Linked DNA regions of Homo sapiens: region 1 is linked to region 2. The links are contacts of gene promoters, found by promoter capture Hi-C in blood cells and fetal thymus (Javierre and others, 2016). All regions are on one chromosome and are shown on one strand. The core of a region is centred on a gene start or on the middle of the fragment in contact, and the rest is flanking DNA. Distances in the headings are between cores, read along the strand shown.

The links. The method cuts DNA at HindIII sites, captures the fragments that hold promoters and counts their contacts. A CHiCAGO score of 5 or more calls a contact.
Region 1: a contact is called between the fragment with the promoter of PREB here and a fragment that was not itself captured in region 2, in 5 of 17 cell types (naive B cells, M2 macrophages, total B cells and 2 more). The highest score is 7.7, in naive B cells.

The regions. Positions count from the first base shown.
Region 1 is chr2:27,131,498-27,137,398 of GRCh38, reverse strand. PREB (prolactin regulatory element binding) reads left to right here and starts at 2,763. Exons shown (of 9, transcript NM_013388.6): 1 at 2,763-3,112; 2 at 3,678-3,867; 3 at 4,062-4,282; 4 at 4,476-4,556; 5 at 4,672-4,796; 6 at 4,996-5,169; 7 at 5,317-5,389; 8 at 5,568-5,727; 9 at 5,891-5,901. The coding sequence starts at 2,978. PRR30 (proline rich 30) reads left to right here. Exons shown (of 3, transcript NM_178553.4): 3 at 1-551. The coding sequence ends at 308. RefSeq lists enhancers at 2,825-2,874, 2,350-3,006 and a silencer at 2,945-3,044. The HindIII fragment of the contact is 5,539 bases long and covers 1-4,381 here.
Region 2 is chr2:27,290,883-27,297,195 of GRCh38, reverse strand. The region is part of intron 1 of TRIM54 (tripartite motif containing 54); the gene reads right to left. Among named protein-coding and RNA genes, the nearest start is that of TRIM54, 12 kb to the right of the region's middle. The HindIII fragment of the contact is 823 bases long and covers 4,085-4,907 here.

The DNA.
Region 1 (5,901 bases), core at 1,514-4,013, 160 kb after region 2:
ATCTGCTGCCCGAGAAAAGGCCGAAGGAAGCAGGGCCTCAGGGCAAGGCTACTCAGGCCTGTGGGCATCAATTGCCAGCATCTCAGCCTCCAGCAGCTCAGGCCCGGGCCGACCCAGTCCCAGGCACACCCTCCCAGACCAGGAGCTTCAGGTCTGCAGGCCTTCAATCACCAAACTCCCCACGATGTTTCTCCGGGCCTCCACCTCGGGCACCAAAACAGGTCACTACCTCCCTGAAGCCCAGGCCTTGCCCTGGCCCAAAGAGGCCAGTTTCTCTGGAGCTCATTCTCCAAAAGTCATCAGTCTAGTTCCAGAGCCACGGAGGCCCCCTGGAACACCCCCTCCAAACCCAACCCTCCCAACCAGGCCCCAGATCTCGGGGAGTCCCCGAGACACCCTGAAGGGCTGGCTGGCCGGAGGTCAGGTGTGTTCTCCTGCTCTGAACCCTGGGAGCCCCTTGTGGAGTCTGCTGTCTCCAGGCTGAAGAGGACCAAGGGCACCAAGGCCCCATTCAGCCCTCCGTGTATCTAATAAAGTCTGACCCTGTGAAACTTGTGTTTGCGTCCTGCTGAGTCCACAGAATAGGTGGCTGTAACTATAGGGGTGCCAGTCCCTAACAAGACCCTTGGTGGCGGGGAGGGGGTGGTTCATGCCTATAATCCCAACACACTGGAAGGCTGAGGTAGGAGGATCACTTGAAGCCACGAGTTTGAGACCAGCCTGGGCAACATAGCAAGACCCTGTCTCTCCAAAAACAAAAATATAAAAAAATTAGCTGAGTATGGTGGCGCGTGCCTGTACTACCAGCTACTCAAGAGGCTAAAGTGGGAGGATCACTTGAGTCCAGGAGTTCAAGGTTGCAATGAGCTATATCATGCCATTGCACTCCAGCCTGGGTGACAGAGACCCTATCTCAAAAAAAAAAAAAAAAAAAAGAGGGCATGGTGTGGTTGCTCATGCCTATAATCCCAGCACTTTGGGAGGCCAAGGTGGGCATATCATTTAAGGTCAGGAGTTACGAGACCAGCCTGGCCAACATGGTGAAACTCCATCTCTACTAAAAATACAAAAATTAGCTGGGTGTGGTGGCGGGTGCCTGTAGTTCCAGCTACTCAGGAGGCTGAGGCAGGAGAATCACTTCAACCTGGGAGGTGGAGGGTGCAGTGAGCTGAGATCAGGCCACTGCACTCCAGACTGGGCAACAGAGCGAGACTCCGTCTCAAAAAATAAAAAAGACCCTGGAGGGTGGTGTCAAAGGAAACGGAGAGGCCAGAAAGAGCAGGTGCCATGTATCCAAGGAGGACAAGGGACCCACAAGGCCTGGGGACTTGAGATATGCAGAGAGCTTGGCCAGGCCCTTCACACATCTAATTCAACTCTGTGGGACAGATATTGGCATCCCCAAAGATGAAGCCACTGCGCTATTCCTCTGGGTGCACCTTAGGTTAATGAGAATGCAGGAGAGGGCGTCTCTTTGCAGGGAAGGACATCCCTTGTGCTCGCTCTCAGGAGTGCACAAAGGTCCTCATCAGATCAGAAACCCGAGGGAGAATGGAGTGTCAGGCGCAGAAGATACCTGCCCGGGAGCCAAACTGCCCCCTCTGAGGCCAGCAAAGCAGCTGGCCACCCACCAAGCCACCAGCCCAGGAGTGTGAAGCCTTGAGAAAGGGAATGGCAGACACCACCCCTGCCAAAAGTGGGCGATAGGCGTTAAGGATGACAGACGTGTCCTCATACGAGGAAGCAATGGATTCAGCATTTGAAGTCAGGTTTATTTTTAAGTTCATGCTGCCTCCGTTAAGAAGCAAGAGACTCCGGTGGTTTCTGGTGTGTGCCCTCGGGCAAATCACTTCCTCTCTGAGGTAAGATGCAAAGGCCTGTGCTCCTAGGAGTTGGCATATCACTCCTCAGATGGGAACAGTCCTTATTTGAGGATTTTATGTGTGTGAGAGACAGGGTCTAGCTCTGTTGCCCAGGGGCTGGAGTGCAGTGGTGACATCACTGGTGGTCCAGCGCAGCCTCGACCTCCCAGTCTCAAGTGATCCTCCCGCCTGAGCCTCCTGGGCACCTGGGCCCACAGGTGCCACGATGTTTGGCTAATTTTTAAATATTTCGTAGGGACGGATCCCCATGTTGCCCAGGCTGTCTCGAAAGCCTGGGCTCAAGCCATCCTCCTCTCTCGGACTTTCCGAAAGTGTTGGGATTACAGGAGGATTACAGGCATGAACCACCGTGCCTGGCAGAGGATTTTTTTTTTTTTGAGACGGAGTTTCACTCTTGTTGCTTGTTGCCCAGGCTGAAGAGCAATGGCAATGGCGCGATCTCGGCTCACTGCAACCTCTACTTCCCAGGTTCAAGTGATTCTCCTGCCTCAGGCTCCCGAGTAGCTGGGATTACAGGCGCACGCCACCACGCCCTTTGTATTTTTGGTAGAGACGGGGTTTCTCCATGTTGGTCAGGCTGGTCTCGAACTCCTGATCCGCCCGCCTAGGACTCACAAAGTGCTGGGATTACAGGCGCGAGTCGGATTTCTTTATTAAAGGTTGACCTTCATCAACCTCCATTGGCTCCACCTCCTCCGCCCGCGCCCCGCGCCCCGCACAAAAATGGCGAAGTCGGTGCTGGGCGACTCTGCCTCCGCGCCAGGGGTGGAGAACCGAAGCCCCGCCCCGGGAAACGCGGCCCCGCGGCCGGCTAGTGCTGACGCGTGTCGGCGCTCCTGCGCCTGCGCGGAGGGAGCCGCGAGACAGGTGCGCATGCGCAGTGCGCGTCTGCGAGACCGACTTGGACGGAGCCGAGCTGAGGCTCGGCTTCCTGCTGATGGTCAGGGTTTTGGCAACTCCCCGGTGTGAGAGGGGTAGGGAGTGCTCCCGGCGGCGACGGGGCCGAGTTCACCAGCCGCCGGGGCAGTAGTCGAAGGCCCGGCGCGGCATGTCCTGGGTGCCGCGGTGCGGGCAGTGAACGCGCGCCGGGCGGGATGGGCCGGCGCCGGGCGCCAGAGCTGTACCGGGCTCCGTTCCCGTTGTACGCGCTTCAGGTCGACCCCAGCACTGGGCTGCTCATCGCTGCGGGCGGAGGAGGCGCCGCCAAGACAGGCATAAAGAATGGCGTGGTGAGAGCGCAGGGCCACTGGGGCTGGGTCTTGCTGCGGGCTGGCGGCGATTCCAGGGTGGCCGGGGGGTCGCGGGGCGGGCCACACTCCAGCTTCGGGCCCTGCCCACTTCTGTTGGGAAGACCCGCTTGCCTGACGCCCAGGGGCGAATTTCAGTCGAGAACTCAGCGGGCGGAGGAGAGGCTTTTAAGGTAAAGTGAAAACTGCACACAGCTGCAGAGTCGCCAGGAACGCTTCAGCTCCGCCTCAGAGCAGCTCCAGGGGTCTTATACTGGCCTTTTCCGGGAGGTCTTGCCTGCCCTCTAGCAGCGGCGAGAGTGGTGCATTTGGGTTTAGGCTAAGTTCCTTCCCTCTCCTGAGCTTCACCCTGTTCTGTAAAATAGAGGTAATAATCCCAGTCCTGCTCACTGTGTAGATTTGTGAGGCCCAAATGAGAGAAAAAAGACTCGAGAAACCCTTGTGAACTAGAACGTGCAGAAAGCAAAGGGGTAAGACATCAGACTCTTCCCTAAACGTGCTCTCTGGGCACCCCTGAACTTGCTCATCCGGGTTCCCCCTCCCACAGCACTTTCTGCAGCTAGAGCTGATTAATGGGCGCTTGAGTGCCTCCTTGCTGCACTCCCATGACACAGAGACACGGGCCACCATGAACTTGGCACTGGCTGGTGACATCCTTGCTGCAGGGCAGGATGCCCACTGTCAGCTCCTGCGCTTCCAGGCACATCAACAGCAGGGCAACAAGGCAGAGAAGGCCGGTGAGGAGCTCCCTCTCTACCCCCTTGGGGAAAGGGTTGAACGAGTAAGGTCACTCTTGGTGTCTCTAAAGAAGTGGGTCTGGAAGTAGGGTTTTGGTAGCAAGCTAGAAGTTGTATGGGCACCTGCCATGGAGAGAGGGGCCAGTACTCCTTACTGTAGAAGCCTGGAACCTGGCCAAGTGTTTGTGTTACAGGTTCCAAGGAGCAGGGGCCTCGACAAAGGAAGGGAGCAGCCCCAGCAGAGAAGAAATGTGGAGCGGAAACCCAGCACGAGGGGCTAGAACTCAGGGTAGAGAATTTGCAGGCGGTGCAGACAGACTTTAGCTCCGATCCACTGCAGAAAGTTGTGTGCTTCAACCACGATAATACCCTGCTTGCCACTGGAGGAACAGATGGCTACGTCCGTGTCTGGAAGGTGTGGGTTTGCAGGGTTAGGGAGGGTGAATGTCAGTAGCAACAGGATCAAAATTGTGAGAAGTTGAACGTGGCATCTGGGAAACTTGTGAATGAAGCTTGCATTGAGGGGCCATTAGAAGGGGTGGCGTGGGCATCAGTCACAGTGTACTTGCTGGACACCTGAGTTAACCATGGTGGTTGTTTGGCTACAGGTGCCCAGCCTGGAGAAGGTTCTGGAGTTCAAAGCCCACGAAGGGGAGATTGAAGACCTGGCTTTAGGGCCTGATGGCAAGGTGAGGGGCTGGGGGTGGGAGGAGGATGGAGAAAGGAGAGAGGAGGTGCTTATGCTGCTTGCCCAGTAAGTGGATCCCCTAACTGTCCATCCTTGGAATCTTTATTCCTAACTAGTTGGTAACCGTGGGCCGGGACCTTAAGGCCTCTGTGTGGCAGAAGGATCAGCTGGTGACACAGCTGCACTGGCAAGAAAATGGACCCACCTTTTCCAGCACACCTTACCGCTACCAGGCCTGCAGGTGTGAAGACTTTGGGTGGTGGCTGAAAGAGGCATAGCCCAGCTGTGGTGGGGGAGAGGGAAAAGACTGGGGATGGGAGAGCTGGGGAGGAACTTGTTGAGTGTTACCCCAGGTCTGACCAGGGTGCAGGTGGTGCACAAACCTCTGAGGAGGGTTGGGCAGGCCCTAGGAGCTGAATAGCCCCTCATCCGGCCCCCAGGTTTGGGCAGGTTCCAGACCAGCCTGCTGGCCTGCGACTCTTCACAGTGCAAATTCCCCACAAGCGCCTGCGCCAGCCCCCTCCCTGCTACCTCACAGCCTGGGATGGCTCCAACTTCTTGCCCCTTCGGACCAAGTCCTGTGGCCATGAAGTCGTCTCCTGCCTCGATGTCAGGTGTGAGACATTGCTGCCTTGGCTAGGTAGGGGGTCCCTGAGGGAGCTTGGAAAGGAGTCCTGCCTGGGTCCCTACGGACCGGTATTGGGGTATGAGGGTTGCTGCACAAGCCTCCAGGACAATGAGCTCTTTATTGTTTGTTGCAGTGAATCCGGCACCTTCCTAGGCCTGGGCACAGTCACTGGCTCTGTTGCCATCTACATAGCTTTCTCTCTCCAGGTAATGGGTGGAGGTTGGCATGGCCCTGTGGGTGGACTGTAGGCCTGTCTCTACCCTGAGTTTGCAGGAAGGAGTCTGGCCCATCCTATCGAGGGAAATCCTGGGGGTGGGGAACATGCTTTCCAGAAAGAGAGTTCCCAGCTAGGCCTTTCCTCACTGGTATTCCTTCTGCCCACAGTGCCTCTACTACGTGAGGGAGGCCCATGGCATTGTGGTGACGGATGTGGCCTTTCTACCTGAGAAGGGTCGTGGTCCAGAGCTCCTTGGGTCCCATGAAACTGCCCTGTTCTCTGTGGCTGTGGACAGTCGTTGCCAGCTGCATCTGTTGCCCTCACGGCGTGAGTCATTGGGGCAGGGCAGGCAGGCACCACCCCACGTTTAATGACCAGAAACGTGCCCCCCGGAGGCTGGGCTCTTTGTGCCACTCCTCCTTTGAAGGGTTCTGGTTTTCAGGCTGGGAAGCCCTTTTGCCCGCTGACCTCCTCCCTTTCCCTCCTGCAGGGAGTGTTCCT
Region 2 (6,313 bases), core at 3,247-5,746:
ACAGAGAAAAGAGTCTATGTGTGGGGAGATGCAGAGATGAAAGACTGGCAGACACTGCTTATTGTACCCTGACGTTCACCACCTTTTCTTCTTTAATAATAAGTGCCCTGAGTTTTAACAAGACACATGGTATAAAGGGCTGGGTGTGGTGGCTCATGCCTGTAATCCCAGCACTTTGGGAGGCCGAGGTGGGCAGATCACTTGAGCTCAGGAGTTTGAGACCAGCCTGGGCAACATAGCAAGAACTCATCTCTACTAAAAATAAAAAAATTAGCTGGGCACGGTGGTGCACACCTGTAGTCCCAGCCACTTGGGAGGCTGAGGCAGGAGAATTGCTTGAAACCAGGAGACAGAGGCTGCAGTGAGCTGAGATAGTACCACTGCACTCCAGCCTGGGCAACAGAGGGAAACTCCATCTCAAAAAAACAAACCAAAAAACCCATGAATCTAAGCCTCCCTTCCAGCTGGGTGTGGCCAATTGGCTGTGCTCTGGGATGTAGATGCAAATGTTTTGTGTAATTTGTAGGAAATTGCACAAACCGTCTTTCATGGGAGGGGCATGCCCTGCTCCTCCCCTTTTCTCCTGCCTGCTGGCTGGAAAGAAGACGGGATGGCTCAAGTTGAAGCAGCCGTCTTGAGCCATGAAGTGGCAGCCACATGTTGAGAATGGTAACGAGATGAAAGGAGGTCTCTGATGAGGCAGTCCTGCACTGTCCACCCATACTTTCACTTGAGAATAAAGCAAATTTTTACCCTCTTTAAGCCACTGTTATTCTGGGGTTTCTGCCACTTAGAACAGAACCTAATCCCAACTGGCTGGAAGATTATGCATTCCTAGAGAGTAATGGAGACAGTGGTCACCTATGAGCTAGCATAGTGAGATGCACTTCCTACAACTGGGATGCATGAACTTCTCCAAACCCTTACACCATACACAAACCAGAAGACAGTTTGGAAGGCCCCTTGCGTGTGTGCAGCAACACCCCATCATGCACAGAGTGCAGCCAAGTCAAGGGTCTTGTTTGATCCTTTGGTAGCAAGGGCTGTAGGCAAGGCAGGAAACGTGGACCCACTGTGAAGTGAGCAGCTTATCTTGGGGAGAGTAACTGGTGTGTGCCATAAATATCACATCTTTCTTGGGATTTCTTGAGAATCATGTTAACCTTTAAGCCCATCATAAACCTGGGGCAGATTAGTTTGAGATAATTCAAGGCATGTTTGTACATCTGCCTTCTCAGTAGCTAGAAATGTATGAATATTGTTGAGTTTAGTTTAGGGAATGCGTTAAAGTGTATAATCACTTGCCTTTTGTTTGCTTAATACAATTACTTTTCAATATTTAGAACCCAAGTGAGGAAAGAGGTGTTGGGAGAACTCTAAGGCTGCAGTCTCCTGTCTTTCTTATCTTTGATTTGCTGATGGCAAGCATATAGAGATATTTGAATGGGAGGAAGGGGGACCTATATCCCACAGCAAAGATAAACTCTTGGGCAGCCGCTCTCCCCAACCTCCATCCCTCACTGCACCCTTCCTCTTCCTGAGCCACAAAGGCAGGGATACTCATTACTTAACATTCAACAAATGTTTTGAGACCAGGCGCGCTGGCTCATGCCCGTAATCCCAGCACTTTGGGAGGCCGAGGTGGGTGGATCATGAGGTCAAGAGTTCGAGACCAGCCTGGCCAACACGGTGAAATCCCGTCTCTACTAAAAATACAAAAATTAGCTGGGTGCGGTGGCAGGCGCCTGTTATCCCAGATACTTTGGGAGGCTGAGGCAAGAGAATTGCTTGAACCCGGGAGGTGGAGGCTGCAGTGAGCCAAGATCATACCATTGCACTCCAGCCTGGGAGACAAGAGTGAAACTCCGTCTCAAAAAAAATATGTTTTGAGGGCTTATCATGTGTCAAGCATCGTGTCATGGGTTTTCCAGACATTGTTGTATTTATTCCTCAAGAACTTCTTGTAAAGATGGTTGAGGATCCCAGCTACTCGGGAGGCTGAGGCACAAGAATCACTCAAACCCTGGAGTCGAACCCAGGAGGCCGAGGTTGCAATGAGCCGAGATTGCGCCATTGCACTCCAACCTGGGCGACAGAGCAGGACTCTGTCTCAAAAAACAAACAAACAAAAAAAGATGGTCGAGGAGGTGAACAATCACTCCTAACTTAGTCTACAAGAAATAGAATAATAATGGCTAACATCTACTGAGCCAGGATTTGCTCTAAGTCTTTCATTTGTATTAATTCACTTAATCCTCATATCAACCCTGAAGTAGGTAATACTCTTTTTTTTTTTTTTTTTTTTTGAGATGGAGTCTTGCTCTGTCGCCCAGGCCGGAGTGCAGTGGTGCAATCTCAGCTCACTGCAACCTCCATCTCCTGGGTTCAAGCGATTCCCCTGCCTCAGCCTCCCAAGCAGCTGGGACTACAGGCGCCTGCCACTATGTCCGGCTAATTTTTTTGTATTTTAGTAGAGACAGGGTTTCACCATGTTGGCCAGATGGTCTCAATCTCCTGACCTCATGATCCGCCCACCTCAGCCTCCCAAAGTGCTGGGATTACAGGCGTGAGCCACCATGCCTGGCCCTGAAGTAGGTAATAGTCTTAGCCCCATTTCAAGGATGAGGAAATTGTGTCTCAGTGAAATTAAATAAATTGTACACGGTCATGAGCTAATAGGTGGCAAAGCCAGTACTGGAACTTAGGCACTCTGACTCCAGAGCCTGTCCTAATAATCATTGTGTTCCATTGTCAGACACAATAAAACTTAGGCCAGGCTGTGCACGGTGGCTCATGACTGTAATCCCAACACTTTGGGAGGTCAAGGCAGCAGGATGGCTTGAGTGCAGGAGTTCAAGACCAGCCTGGGCAGTACAGTGAAACCACGTCTCTACAAAAAGAAGAAAAAGCAAGATGGCTCATGCCTTTAGTCCCAGGTATTTGGGAGGCTGAGGTGGGAGGATCACTTGAGCCCAGGAAGTCAAGGCTGCAGTGAGCTGTGATCATGCCACTGCACTACAGCATGGGTGACAGAGGGAGACCTGTCTCAAAAACAAAACAAACAAAAAACAAAACAAAAAAACCCTTAGAGCTAATATTCATTTCTCTGAGTCTCAGGCAGAGGCAGTTTCTTTTACTGTTGTTGTTGTTGTTATTATTGTTGTTGTTGTTTTTGAGACAGAGTCTCACTCTGTCGTCGGGCTGGAGTGCAGTGGCAGGATCTTGGCTCACTGCCACCTCCACCTCCCGGGTTCAAGCGATTCTCCTGCCTCAGCCTCCTGAGTAGCTGGGAGTACAGGCACGTGCCACCATGCCCGGCTAATTTTTTGCATTTTTAGTAGAGATGGGGTTTCCCCATGTTGGCCAGGCTGGTCTTGAACTCCTGACCTCAGGTGATCCACCCACCTCGGCCTCCCAAAGTGCTGGGATTACAGGTGTGAGCCACCTCACCTGGCCGTTTTTTGTTTTTGTTTTTTAAGTAAAAAAAGTAAAAGGGTAATGAAGGAACAAACCTCAAACCTTCACAGAGGAAAGAAACTACAGCCTGAAAATCAACTATGCAACTGTGGACTAAAGCTATTTAAGCAAAGATCAACAAAAGATGACTCATCAAATTAAAACCCTGTGTGCCATGGAGCTCTATAAGGGCCCTGCTTTCAACCAGAATGACCTGTTTGTCTGTGAAATGGAGAGGAAATAGCTCAAATCTCAGGGGAGACCTCCTCCCATGGACCTGTGTGGGCCTCTATGGTAGATAAATCACCGGATTCTGCGTGAAAAATACTCCAAGACAACACAACCAAATTGAGACACTCAACTACCTATTAATTCAGGTCATACCCCTCTATTCACCAAAGAAGGCACAGAACTAAAGAGAGATTGCAAAACCAATGACAACATCCAACCAGGCAGCTTATATTTAAGAGGACAGTGAAAGAAAGCCAAGATAAACACAGTGGGTTGAGTCAGGAATTCACCTTCAGCTCCAGATAAAAGTACCCTGATAAAAGGGGAGTGATAAGCAGACAGAATCCAACAAAAGATGCAAACCAGATAATACAAAAAGAAAAGAAAAAAGAAAGCTTGACAAACAAGGGACAGATACTCCAAGAATCAATACCATTTCGATATACCATTTTAAAAGAAATAACAAAAACAAAGAGATATAAGTGATCAAAACTGGAGAAGAAAAGAGAGCTGGCAGAATTAAGGAAAGAAATCAAGTAAATATCAACACAGAAAAAAAATCCACATTTGACAGGAGAATGGATGATGCTGATAAAAGTCACATAGATTGCAATAGAAATTATCAGCTAAAAGTAACCAGGTCTGCAGTCTGTAACATGGATAAACCTTGAAGACATTATGCTAAGCAAAATAAGCCAGACACAAAAGGACAAATATTGTATGATTCCTCTTAAATGAGGTACCTGGCATAGGATGGATGGTGGTTGCCAGTTGCTGGAAGGAGGGGGAGTAGGGAGGTATTGTTTAAGGGGTGTGGGGTTTCAGTTTGGGGTGGTGATAAAGTTCTGGGGATGGATAGTGGTGACAGTTTCACAACAATGTAAATGTATGTAATGCCATTGAACTGTACATTTAAAAGGTTAAGGTGGTACATTTCATGTTATGTGCATTTTACAAAAATTAAAAAAAATTTTTTGAGACAAGATCTCTCTCTCTGTCGTCTCAACTTCCTGGGATCGAGGGATCCTCTCACCTCAGCCTCCCAAGTGGCTGGGACTGCAGGTGTGCCACCATGCCCAGCTAATTTTTAAAAAAAGTTTCTGCAGAGATAGGGTCTTGCTAGTTGCCCAGGCTGATGTCAAACTCCTGGCCTCAAGCGATCCTCCTACCTCAGCCTCCCAAAGTGCTGGAATTTCAGGGGTGAGACCCCATGCCAAGCTTACAATTTTTAGAAAGAAAAAAGTAATCAGGACTTGGGCTATCTTGGCCAATGTCTTCCTTCAAACTCCCCACAGCCAGAACTGACTTCAGGACTTGACCTGAGGGAGGCACACTAACACCACCTCTTCAACACCCTCCCACCTGCCAAAGCAATTTCTTTAGCAGCTCATCGCATTGGTTAGTCATTGCATTTATTCTGGAGCCCAGAAGGCTAAGAGGCATCAGTACTCAGGCAGTCCAACCCAAGTCCTTTGAAAAGTTCCTGTCTTGGGAGAGAGAAATCGGGAGTGTGTGAGCTCAGGGTGCAGGGCGGTGGGGAGAGGCTGCACCTCTGCTTTCCCACCGTCTTGCTCAGGGCTGGTGCTGCTCCCTGCTGCTGACACCACAGTCCCGTATTTTGCGTGTAGCTTTCATCCCCCAGTCCCAGAGTCCCCTCCTGATTCACAAGTCCAATTTCTCCTGCCATATCTCCGTCGGGCCTGGCTGGCTTTCATCTTAATCTCCAGGGCAGCCCTTCCCTTCTGTGATTGCTTCAGCAATGCTAGCCCCCAGCCAAATCCTAACCCCACTTCCTTTGCTAGTCTTTCTGGCCAATATTTACATACATGTGCTTTTTGGCATTAAGACTACATTTGACTTGTAATAAAATAGTAAAATTTATCCTTCAGACTTTCCAGGGCCTCTGGCTCATATTGCTTAGACGCCCTCATTGTGTTTCCCAAAATATGGTATAATACTGATGACAAGCATGAAGATTGGAGGTGGTATGGGGATGGATGTTCAAGATTTTTTATGTGTTAATTCTAATGCATATTAGGAAAAAAACAGTCCACAAAAAACTGACAATTTTTCATGGATTACATTGTATAGAATAAGGATAAAGTAAATATTTAAGGTTTAAAAGTCATTTTTTGTTTGTTTGTTTTTGTTTTGCGACAGGGTTTCACTCCTGTAGCCCAGGCTAGAATGCAGTGGCACGATCTCGGCTCACTGCAACCTCTGCTTCCCGGGCTCAAGTGATTCTCCAGCCTCAGCCTCCTGAGTAGCTGGGACTATAGGCGTTCACCACCATGCCCAGCTAATTTCTTTATATTTTAGTAGAGACAGGGTTTCACCATGTTGGCCAGGCTGCTCTCAAACTCCTGAACTCAAGTGATCTGCCTACCTTGGCCTCCCAAAGTTCTGGGATTATAGGTGTGAGCCAGTGCACCTAGCCTAAAAGTGAGTGTTTTAAAATAGAACTATTAAATTATAGTACAGGTAGTACACAGCTATGGCAAAAATCAGGAAGGTGAAATAAGAATGAAATTTGCTAACCATTTCCTGACTTTCTCTACCAAAATTTGTCTGACTTGTGTTCCAAACCTTTTGCAAATGTTGAGTGGCTACTTTGAGAAAGTCTTCT